3 separate regions of the Homo sapiens genome follow, and regions 2 and 3 are each linked to region 1. The links are contacts of gene promoters, found by promoter capture Hi-C in blood cells and fetal thymus (Javierre and others, 2016). All regions are on one chromosome and are shown on one strand. Each heading gives the region's core, a stretch centred on a gene start or on the middle of the fragment in contact. The rest is flanking DNA. Distances are from core to core; before and after follow the strand shown. Region 1 holds the start of SKI (SKI proto-oncogene). Region 2 overlaps MORN1 (MORN repeat containing 1). Region 3 overlaps RER1 (retention in endoplasmic reticulum sorting receptor 1).

What was found. The method cuts DNA at HindIII sites, captures the fragments that hold promoters and counts their contacts. A CHiCAGO score of 5 or more calls a contact.
Region 2: a fragment that was not itself captured here is called in contact with the fragment with the promoter of SKI in region 1 in 3 of 17 cell types (endothelial precursors, erythroblasts and megakaryocytes); the score reaches 6.1 in endothelial precursors.
Region 3: a contact is called between a fragment that was not itself captured here and the fragment with the promoter of SKI in region 1, in 3 of 17 cell types (total CD8 T cells, erythroblasts and M1 macrophages). The highest score is 5.5, in total CD8 T cells.

Annotation. Positions count from the first base shown.
Region 1 is chr1:2,226,662-2,229,927 of GRCh38, forward strand. It overlaps SKI (SKI proto-oncogene), which reads left to right and starts at 1,658. Exons shown (of 7, transcript NM_003036.4): 1 at 1,658-3,074. The coding sequence starts at 2,106. RefSeq lists an enhancer at 1-399 and a silencer at 719-1,488. The HindIII fragment of the contact is 10,430 bases long and covers 1-3,266 here.
Region 2 is chr1:2,357,551-2,360,859 of GRCh38, forward strand. It overlaps MORN1 (MORN repeat containing 1), which reads right to left. Exons shown (of 14, transcript NM_024848.3): 9 at 1,042-1,165; 10 at 1-48. Among named protein-coding and RNA genes, the nearest start is that of MORN1, 32 kb to the right of the region's middle. The HindIII fragment of the contact is 4,053 bases long and covers 1-3,308 here.
Region 3 is chr1:2,401,590-2,404,884 of GRCh38, forward strand. It overlaps RER1 (retention in endoplasmic reticulum sorting receptor 1), which reads left to right. Exons shown (of 7, transcript NM_007033.5): 6 at 618-753; 7 at 1,446-3,295. The coding sequence ends at 1,535. It overlaps PEX10 (peroxisomal biogenesis factor 10), which reads right to left. Exons shown (of 6, transcript NM_002617.4): 6 at 2,385-3,295. Among named protein-coding and RNA genes, the nearest start is that of PEX10, 9.3 kb to the right of the region's middle. The HindIII fragment of the contact is 2,537 bases long and covers 160-2,696 here.

The DNA of each region.
Region 1 (3,266 bases), core at 408-2,907:
GGCTCCCCCAGGATAGGAACTGCGCCCAGGAGTGCTGGTTTGAGGCAGGTTCCAGCCTCCACTGGGGAAGTGAGGGGCAGGAGGTCCCAGCTGAAGGTCACTCAGGTTGCAGCGGCGTGGCCCTCTCGCCTCCGCCCAGCACCCAGGCCAGCTTGGGCACCCCCGGCCCGTGGGGCATGTCCCTCCGCCTCAGGCGAGCACAGACCGAGCCCTGCCCCTCCCCAAACACACCATTGCGTCCCTGCGCCCGCAGGCCTCGCTGGAAGCTGCCTCCCCTGGAGACCACCCGGCCGACTGTCCAACTTCGGGGCCCCGGGCTTCCCGCTCCCCGCCCTGCCAAGGCTTGAGTCTCTCCCACTGCGTGGCCAGGCGTGGAGGGCCGGCCGATCCGACCCCGAAAGACGTCTCAGCGCTCCACGGCCCCGGGGCGGAGGTCAGGGGTCTCGCCGGCCCGAACGCCGGGCCCCGCGGGGCCGAAGTCCTGATAAGCCACCTGGCAGGAGTGGCTGGCAGACCGGCTGCGTCTGGGGCACCGGGCGCCGCCCCTCCCAGGCCCGAAGCCCCCGGCCCGCGCAGCAGGGACACTCCGCCAGGGGCCGGCGGGCGGGGCGGGGCCGGCGCGGCCGGGAGCCGCGGACACTCGGCCACCGAGCCACCGGCCACGGCGCAGCGGGGGCCGCCGGGCTGCGCCGCCAGGGTCACGCGACGCGGTGCCCGTCTCGGCGCAGGGTCCCTGGGCGTGGCCGCTGTCCCCCTCGTGTGTGGGACCCCAGGTCACCGTGTGGCGTCCCGGTAGTGTGTGGGACCCCAGAGGCGTCCGGGGCCTCCCCGCTGTGTGGTGTCCCACCCTGGGAGAACCCCGGGTGCGTGGCGTGGCCCCCCGGCCGCCCCCAGCTGGTTTGCGGTCGTGGCGGGGGCCTGTGGGTTTCTGGGCCCCGACGGCGGCGAGACGGGCGCCTTCCCAGCGGCGCAGGAAGCGGCCTCGGCCGGAAGGGGGGCCCCGGGCGCCACCGCCGCCTCCGCCTCCGCCCGCGCCCAGCGGCCCTCGGCGGGCGGGGCCGAGCGGGGCCGAGCGGAGTCGAGCATGGCCGAGCGTAGCCGAGTCCCGGCCGAGCGGAGCCGAGTCATGGCAGGGCGGGTCCGAGCGTGGCCGAGTCCCGGGCGAGCGGAGCCGAGCGCGGCCGAGTCCGGGCGGGGAGCGCGCGTTCCTGGAAGAGCCCGGCTGGGGAGCGGGTCACATTCTTGGCCAGCGCTAGGGCTGAGGCGGACGCACGGCAACAAACAGCGCGGGGGGCGGGGCCGGCGCGGGGCGGAGCGGGCGGCGCGGGGCGGGGCGGCGCGGCGGCGGCGTGAGCTCAGCGCCGGGCGCTCAGTCCGAGCCGGAGCGAGCCGCCGGGAGGATGTGCGCCGAGCGCCCCGAGCCCCGCGCCGCCGCCGCGCTCTGAGGGCCGCGGGCGAGAGGCGCCTCCGCCGCCCCGGAAGCCGGGCGGGCGGGCCGCGGAGCCGGCGGGCGGGCGGGCCGGGGGCCGGCGGCGGGCGCGACGCGGCCGGCCAGCGCCGCCGGGACGAGCCGGGCGGGCGCCTCGCGGTGGGAGGAGCGGGGCGGCGGCGGCGCGCCGCGCGAGGACGGCCCGGCGGGCCCCGCGCCCGCGCCCCCGCTCCTCCCGGGCCCCTCGGCCTCGGCCGCCGCGGCGATTCGCGCCTCGCGGCGCCGGCACCTGCCCGCGCGCCCCCCGCGAGCCCCGGGCCCGCGAGCGTTGGCGTTGGCGTTGGCGGCGCGCGCCGGGGCATGCCCCGCGCCTAGAGCCCGGGGGGCGCGCGGGGGACGCGCGGGGGGCCCGGGCGGCGGCGGGCGCGGCGCGGGGCGCGTGGATGTGGCGCCGGGCCCGGGCGGCGGCGGGCTCCAGCGGCGGGACCCCTTCGCCCCGCCCGCCTTCCCCTTCGCGCCCCCGGGCGAGGCCGCGGCCGTGATCGGCCGTGAGCCGGCGGCGGGGGGCGGCCGGGGTCGGGGCCGCGGGCGCCGCCGGGGCGCGCGGGGCGGCGGCGGGGGCCGGGGGGGCCCGGGCGCGCGGGAGCGGGAGCGGCCGGGGGAGCCGGAGCGCACCATGGAGGCGGCGGCAGGCGGCCGCGGCTGTTTCCAGCCGCACCCGGGGCTGCAGAAGACGCTGGAGCAGTTCCACCTGAGCTCCATGAGCTCGCTGGGCGGCCCGGCCGCTTTCTCGGCGCGCTGGGCGCAGGAGGCCTACAAGAAGGAGAGCGCCAAGGAGGCGGGCGCGGCCGCGGTGCCGGCGCCGGTGCCCGCAGCCACCGAGCCGCCGCCCGTGCTGCACCTGCCCGCCATCCAGCCGCCGCCGCCCGTGCTGCCCGGGCCCTTCTTCATGCCGTCCGACCGCTCCACCGAGCGCTGCGAGACCGTACTGGAAGGCGAGACCATCTCGTGCTTCGTGGTGGGAGGCGAGAAGCGCCTGTGTCTGCCGCAGATTCTCAACTCGGTGCTGCGCGACTTCTCGCTGCAGCAGATCAACGCGGTGTGCGACGAGCTCCACATCTACTGCTCGCGCTGCACGGCCGACCAGCTGGAGATCCTCAAAGTCATGGGCATCCTGCCCTTCTCGGCGCCCTCGTGCGGGCTCATCACCAAGACGGACGCCGAGCGCCTGTGCAACGCGCTGCTCTACGGCGGCGCCTACCCGCCGCCCTGCAAGAAGGAGCTGGCCGCCAGCCTGGCGCTGGGCCTGGAGCTCAGCGAGCGCAGCGTCCGCGTGTACCACGAGTGCTTCGGCAAGTGTAAGGGGCTGCTGGTGCCCGAGCTCTACAGCAGCCCGAGCGCCGCCTGCATCCAGTGCCTGGACTGCCGCCTCATGTACCCGCCGCACAAGTTCGTGGTGCACTCGCACAAGGCCCTGGAGAACCGGACCTGCCACTGGGGCTTCGACTCGGCCAACTGGCGGGCCTACATCCTGCTGAGCCAGGATTACACGGGCAAGGAGGAGCAGGCGCGCCTCGGCCGCTGCCTGGACGACGTGAAGGAGAAATTCGACTATGGCAACAAGTACAAGCGGCGGGTGCCCCGGGTGAGTGGCCCCAGGCCTGGGAGCTGGGGAGGATGCGCTTGGGGTGGGGGCCCCTTCTGGACTACAGGCTCTGGTCTCCGAAGGCTGGGACCTGTGCTTCTGCCGTGCCCCATGTCTCCAGTCTTCGCTTTGTTTTAGGGAAATTCAGAGTGTTCCGACTGGCAGGGCCAGAGAGTTTGGTAGGAAGGCCCT
Region 2 (3,309 bases), core at 32-2,531, 130 kb after region 1:
ACCCCAGCTGCGGGGCTGGACACAGGATAAGGGATGCATTCGAACCCACTGCAAAGGAATGGGGGCAGCTTGGCTCTACTCACCCCACACCAAACTAGGGTGCAGGCAGACAGCGTGGCCCACGCCCTGGACCCTGGGACTTGCCTACACTGAGTCCAGGGAGCGCTACTCAGCCTCTCTGGGAGGTCTCCTGCTGGGATGGGGCCAGTTGAGGCCCAGAGAGAAAAAAGACTCGCCAGGGAGAAGACAGCAGGTCTTGGCTTGAAGGAAGAGCTGCCTGCCGCCCCCATTATTATTTATGACAACTCCAGCAGCGTCACCTCTCGGGTGCGTTCTGACTTCACAGTGGGTCCAAGTTTACCCCAAATGTCAGACAGTCCTTAACTCAGGAGAAGGGCCGGTGGGAAAAGGGAGTGTGAGAGCTGTGGCGTCACACTCAGGTCTGGTCGCCTGGGGCACTGCTAAGTTCTGACTGTGAATGGTAAAATGCATGGATTTTCATGTTGCGGGGCTTAGAGTGAGGCCTCTTCCTGGAGTCCTGCAGCTCAGGCCTCTGTTTGCGTGTGGGTTTGTGCACACACTGGCCTGGTCCAGCGTGTTCCTGGGAGGCCTGGTGATGTGTGCGTGGGGAGTGGCGCCCAACTAGGCCTGGCTGGTAAGGGCCACTCCCCTCCTGGCTGCACCAAGAGAGGCCTGAGCATCTCTGCAGCCGACCCTCCTCCCAGGAGCACCCGAGGGCCGGAGTCCTGATGTCTCCACTCCAGACACGGACCCAGGCCCAGAGGCTTGGGGGCCGAGCGCTGGGGGAGACTAGGGGCTCTGACCAGGGGCTCGCGGTCTCAGAAGGCAAGAGGGGCCACAGCAGAGGGTCAGGTACTGAAATTCAAGGGAGCTGTTTCCTTAGAACAGACATCGAATATTTCATTTGTCATAACCAGGACTTAGCCCAGGTCTCTAGGGAAAAAAGGACAAGGAATTAATGTGACCTAAATGAACTCAAAACAAACTCAGAACTAACTCATTGGTGTCACACGTACTCACAATGGGGTCTGGATGAGTGTCTCTTGGTTGTCTCTGTCCACTTTGAAAAAGTTGACCTCAGAGTAGGCTGACAGCTGCACGTATCTGACGCCCGCTGAGATCTGCAGGACCCGGCCGCTCTCGCCTTCCAGGAGAGAGGAGCAGGCAGTGAACACTCACAGGCACCCAGAAGCGGGGTGCGCGGGCCCGGGGCAGGCTTCTGGGACGCTGTGTTTATAACTCAGCGGGGCCACATTTGCCAGTGGCTGTGACCCTGGTGGGCTGAGGACCCCGGCTTGCCCTCCGTGGGCTCTCTGCTCCTCTCCCATGCCCTGCAGAAGTTTCCCAGCCCTGGGATCTCTGGTGCTGGCCACACTCACCCCAATACCCCTGTACCCCTGTACCCCTTGCCTCAGGTCCTGGATCCTGAATCTCCAGCTCTAGGCCTCGGGGACCCCTGGCTCCACCCCTGCCCTAGCCTGGGGCTGGCACACTATGGGAAGGCATCTCCTTGCTGACCAGCCTCAGGGCTTCACCTCAGGCACACCCAGGCCTTGGGCTGGTCAGGGGCGTGGGGTGGCACTGGCACTCACAAGCTCCCGGGGCCTCCATGGTGGTCCTCATCACCCTGGCAGATAGCAGGCTCTCCGTGCCCATCTCCCACCTTGACCCGGGGGGATGGGCTCCCCCCTCCACTAAGGTACCCAGCACAGGGCCTGGCACACAGCTGGTGCCCACCAAGTGTCTGCTGAGTCAGCTGCTCCATCCTGCACCCCATTGCTCCTGGGAACCTTAGGCTGCAGGTGGCCCCCAGAGGACTGTGCCCAAGGAGTGGACACCACTGTCCCTCTGAGTTGCTGAGTGCAGATGCTCTGGGCCCCGCTGGGCAGGTGGAGGTGGCGGAGCTGGGTGTTCAGCCACACCCAGAAGACCCCACGTGGGAGTGCTGGATAGCAGGGAGGAGTGGCTTGGGCACCGTGGGTGGAGGCAAGATGGCTGTGCCGAGAGGAGCAAAGAGGAAGAGGAAGGAGGCCAGATGTGGTGGCTCACCCCTGTCATCCCAGCACTTTGGGAGGCCGAGGCGGGTGGATCTCCTGAGGTCAGGAGTTTGAGACCAGCCTGGCCAACATGGCGAAACCTGTCTCTACTAAAAATACAAAAAGTAGTCAAGTGTGGTGGCAGCACCTGCAATCATCCCAGCTCCTTGGAGGTTGAGGCAGGAGAATCGCTTGAACCCAGGAGGCGCAGGCTGCAGTGAGCCAGGATCATGCCACTGCACTCCAGCCAGGGCGACAGAGAGAGACTCCGTCTCAAAAAAAAAAAAAGGGAAACAAAAGAAGAAGAGGAAGGAGACCAGTCCGGTGCCCCAGAGTGGATGCCGAGCTTTGGGACGGGCTCTCAAGTGGGAAATGACTGGACTTCAGCAAACATGGGCCATTCGGACAAAGCAGGGCCCAGGCAGGCTCCCACTTGGGGTGGCCGTGGAGGGGTCGCCTCAGAGCCTGGGGCTACCCCCAATCATCACGGATGATGTATCACGCCCTGCACCCCTGGCACTAGGCACAGGTCCAGGGCCTGGTCATGCGGACTCTGAGGTCAAGGTCCTATGGAGGACAGGTTAACAGGAACCCAGCCTCTCATCTTACTAAGATCTGGCAAAGGAGACACGATTGGGAAAGCAAAGATGTCAAATGTAAAAACACTAGCGTAGCCTGCTGGACATCTGTATGGGGATGGAGTAACTGGGATCGATTGACACCCCTGGTTCCAACAACCAAGAAAGCCGACAAAGTGCAATGAAATTGATATCAGGATCCCGGACACCAGGCAACTCAGGACAGATCCTTGAAAGAAGGAAACAAACGGCGTGGACTCTATAATTGCCCTGGCTGCTGCCTTAAAAGAACGTGCAGGATGAGCTGCAGAGAGGGGAAACTGAGGCAGAGCCCAACAAACCCCTCAGTTGAGGAAAATGAGCAGAGAATCTGGGGAACAAGGCACACAGTCAGAGTTTTAAAATTCAAAGGGCAGAGCAGCGAAGAGGAGAGAGAGGACCCTGAGTAGAGGGAGGACCCTGAGTAGAGGGAGGACCCTGCAGCCCGCAGGAGGCCCTGGAGTGTTCAGCAGAGCACCATTCAGCACACCTGGGACAAAACTCCACGAGGCTGGGGAAGAACCGTCTGAAGAATTAAGAGGGACCAGGACCTGGGCCTCACACAGGACTGGGCATGGTGCCTGTTCTCCTCAGCCAGGCTGGAAAAACTCAGAGGTCACAGGAAGCGGGGGCAA
Region 3 (3,295 bases), core at 178-2,677, 170 kb after region 1:
TTGTCCCTCATACCCCACTCTGGGAGCACAGGAGGAACCCAAGTCTGTTAGATCAGTAAACTGAAGGAGCCTGCTGAGCTCGTGGGGCTCCACGCCTTGACTTTGCAGCCGCAGATGGAGTGTGGTACAGAAAGATCAGGGGCCCTGGAAGCCACCAGAAGCTTGGACTAGGAAGGGAGAGCTGAGCCTCCAGGGCCGTGGCATCTGTTGGCCATGTGCTGGGACGGGAGGGAGCACTGGTGGCCATGCCACAGTGACAAGGTGAAGGCCCTGGATGGTCCACAAGACACAGCCTGGGTTTCTCTCCAGATCGCAGGCCCAGCCAGCAGGCATGGGGCCCCCAGCCTCAGTACTGATGCTTTATACTTTGTGTAGTTTTAAGAAGAATTGTGTCTTTCAAGGGAGTAAGAGAAGGATGTTTCTGTGGTTAGGGCAGTACATGTCTGTGAGCTACATGCAAAGGGTCCTGCTGCTGCTGTGCCCAGGGTAGACCCCTCCTTTCCACAGGGATGCTTCTGTTTGCGGGGACGGTCGGTGCAGCTGCAAGGCTGGAGGCGGCCGGCAGGTGCCCGGTGCTGGCTGCAGATGCGGCGCTAACCTTCTCTCCCCACTTGAAGGCATGCGGCTACCAAGGGCATCCTTGTGGCTATGGTCTGTACTTTCTTCGACGCTTTCAACGTCCCGGTGTTCTGGCCGATTCTGGTGATGTACTTCATCATGCTCTTCTGTATCACGATGAAGAGGCAAATCAAGGTAAAGCAGAGGCGCTGCCGCCACGCCGGCCGCAATCGCTGTTCTGTTACCCGCAGCATTGGGGGAGCTGTGCTGGGCTGTGGTGGGTGGTGGCAGAGTCTGCCTGGTGTGAATGTGGAGCTAAGTGGCACCGTCTTGTGTGTGACGAGGACACTGCTCCGTTCCCAGCACGGCCGGCTAACTAAACGGGGAGCGCAGCTGTGGGAGCGGGCGGGCTCTTGGTGGAAACTTTGTGGAAGCCGGGTGGGAGAGCCCCGGCGAGTGCAGTGTCCCGGTGGCTCCTCTTAGGGTGCCCAGTGCCCCGCGCCAGCCTGCCCGAGGAGGAGGGTGTTAGGGGGAAGTTAGCCGAGACTGCGGACTGTGCCCTTGACGGTGTGGCCTTCGTGCTGCGGGCCTCACTCTGTGCCCGGGGTGTTGGCTGCAGAGAGGGCCCTGGGCCACCTCACATCCCCCTTGCCCTTCCTCCACGGGAGGCTCACGAAGCACTGGGATTGATGGGGTTTCAAACCTAGGCCTCGTGGGCTGTGGAAGGTCTTGCTGTGTTGATGTGGGCGCAGGAAGCCACTGGGGCTCCGATTCCACTTGTCTGATGTATAGAAAAGATGGGGGACCTTTGGCCGCTCAGATTTGGGGACAGTGTGACTGACTGGAGAGCGGTTGTGCAGTAACTGAGTCTGTGTTTCTCTCCCCAGCACATGATTAAGTACCGGTACATCCCGTTCACACATGGGAAGAGAAGGTACAGAGGCAAGGAGGATGCCGGCAAGGCCTTCGCCAGCTAGAAGCGGGACTGAGGCTGCCTCACGTGTTGCAAGAACAGTTTTGAGCCATTGTTAACAATGCCTTTTTTCTTCACATAAAGTAGTTGATTACGAGGGAGTCAAATTTTCTTTTTAAAAAGGAGCTTCAATGATTTGTAACTGAAATATCAGGTTCTAGAAGAAACTGGCGCTTAAACCAAATCGCATGGATTTCTTTTTCAGTGACGTTCAAGTGTTTCTCACGGATGGAATTCTAGTCAGCTGCAGGCGGGAAGCCAGGCGGGTGGAGCCCATGGGAGCAAGGGCGAGTGGCCGGTCCCCGCTGTGCCAGGTGGGCAGGCAGGAGCAAGGCCTGCGAGGGAGGAACGGGCCGCTCCCCGCCAGCCGCCTTCCCCAGCAGCCGCAGGTGGTGCCAGCCACTCCACAGAGCCCGAGGGATGATCTAGCCTGATTCCTGCGTGTCCGAAAGAACTTAACGTTTTAAAGGTGATTGTCAAGTAACTGTGTGGGGTTCTAATGCCAGTTTCCTAATTCCATCTCACTGGAGATGTTTAAAGTTGGCCTCTATCCTAATGACTCAAAACTTGGTTCTTAACTACCATGATTGCTTTTGAGGGCCCGGAATTATAAATATATATTATATTTTAATTGTTTGAGATTATTTTGACACATTTCTTTGATACGTAGAGTGTTTTGTTTTTAATTTAAATCTGTCCTCATGCAACCCTCCATGAGGGGCAGCGAAGCTGGCAGGGAGCAGACTGGCTTTGTAGGTTCAGCACTCGGCCCCCCACTGCGGGAGAGGCGGAACCCACTTGCATGTCAGCGTTTTTGATTCGAGAAAAGAAATACTCTCAACGTTTTACCAAGTGATTTTACCTCCACCTTTACTAAAGTCTTTACCTAAAACATGGCAGTCGCTGGACACAGGAAAGCCCACCTTTTGTTTGGCCTTTTCGAAAGGTGACCCATATTGCACAGCAGAACATCACAGCTGTGGTCCCAGATGAGACACTGACATGCGAGTGAAGGCCTCTCCTCCTGGGCCCCGGGCTGCGCAGGCTCCTCACTCTGGGCGGTGTTTCCTGTCTCAGAATTGACACGGTGAATGCTTAGTGTCTGGATTTTCTTGTACCAGTGTTTACATATCTGACATCGAGCTCCTCTAAGAGGCCACGTTCAAGCTTGTGTGTCCCTGACCCAAGATAGCCAGTGCTGCTCCCAGGTGGTACTTCTGGTACCGTGTTGAGACACTTGGGATTCTCAGACTGTGGACAGGAGTGTTTGTCATTTTTCATACTGTTTTCTTAATAAGCGCTCAGGCCTAAGGTGTGACAGGAAGTCGCACGCGCTTGGCCAGAGCACAGTGAAGCAAAGGACTGGGTGCTGATGGATGGAGCCACGGCGGCATCTGCCCACCCGGCCGCAGCCCCCAGTGCCTCTCCTGGTGGTCCTCCCAGTCTAGAGGGTCACGGCCCCCCCGCCCTCCTCCGTCTCTGGCAAGCTGACCTTGACTAACCCAGGAATACAGGGTCATCCTCATTCCTAAGTAAGTCAAACAGCAAGACATGGTTTGCGCGGGTCTTTGCCGGAAGCCGGTCCTGCTGGCCAGGTGTTTTACGTCAGCAGGGAAATGTGGCACACGCCCTCGAGGCATTTTAACACTGCGCTTCAGGAAATCTCAAGTTCCATCTTGTGTTAGTAACGTACCCACATTTTGCTGGAGTTAGTTTATTAAAGATGCCTACGGTGAACTCTCTGGCGCAGGTTAAATGCAGTTT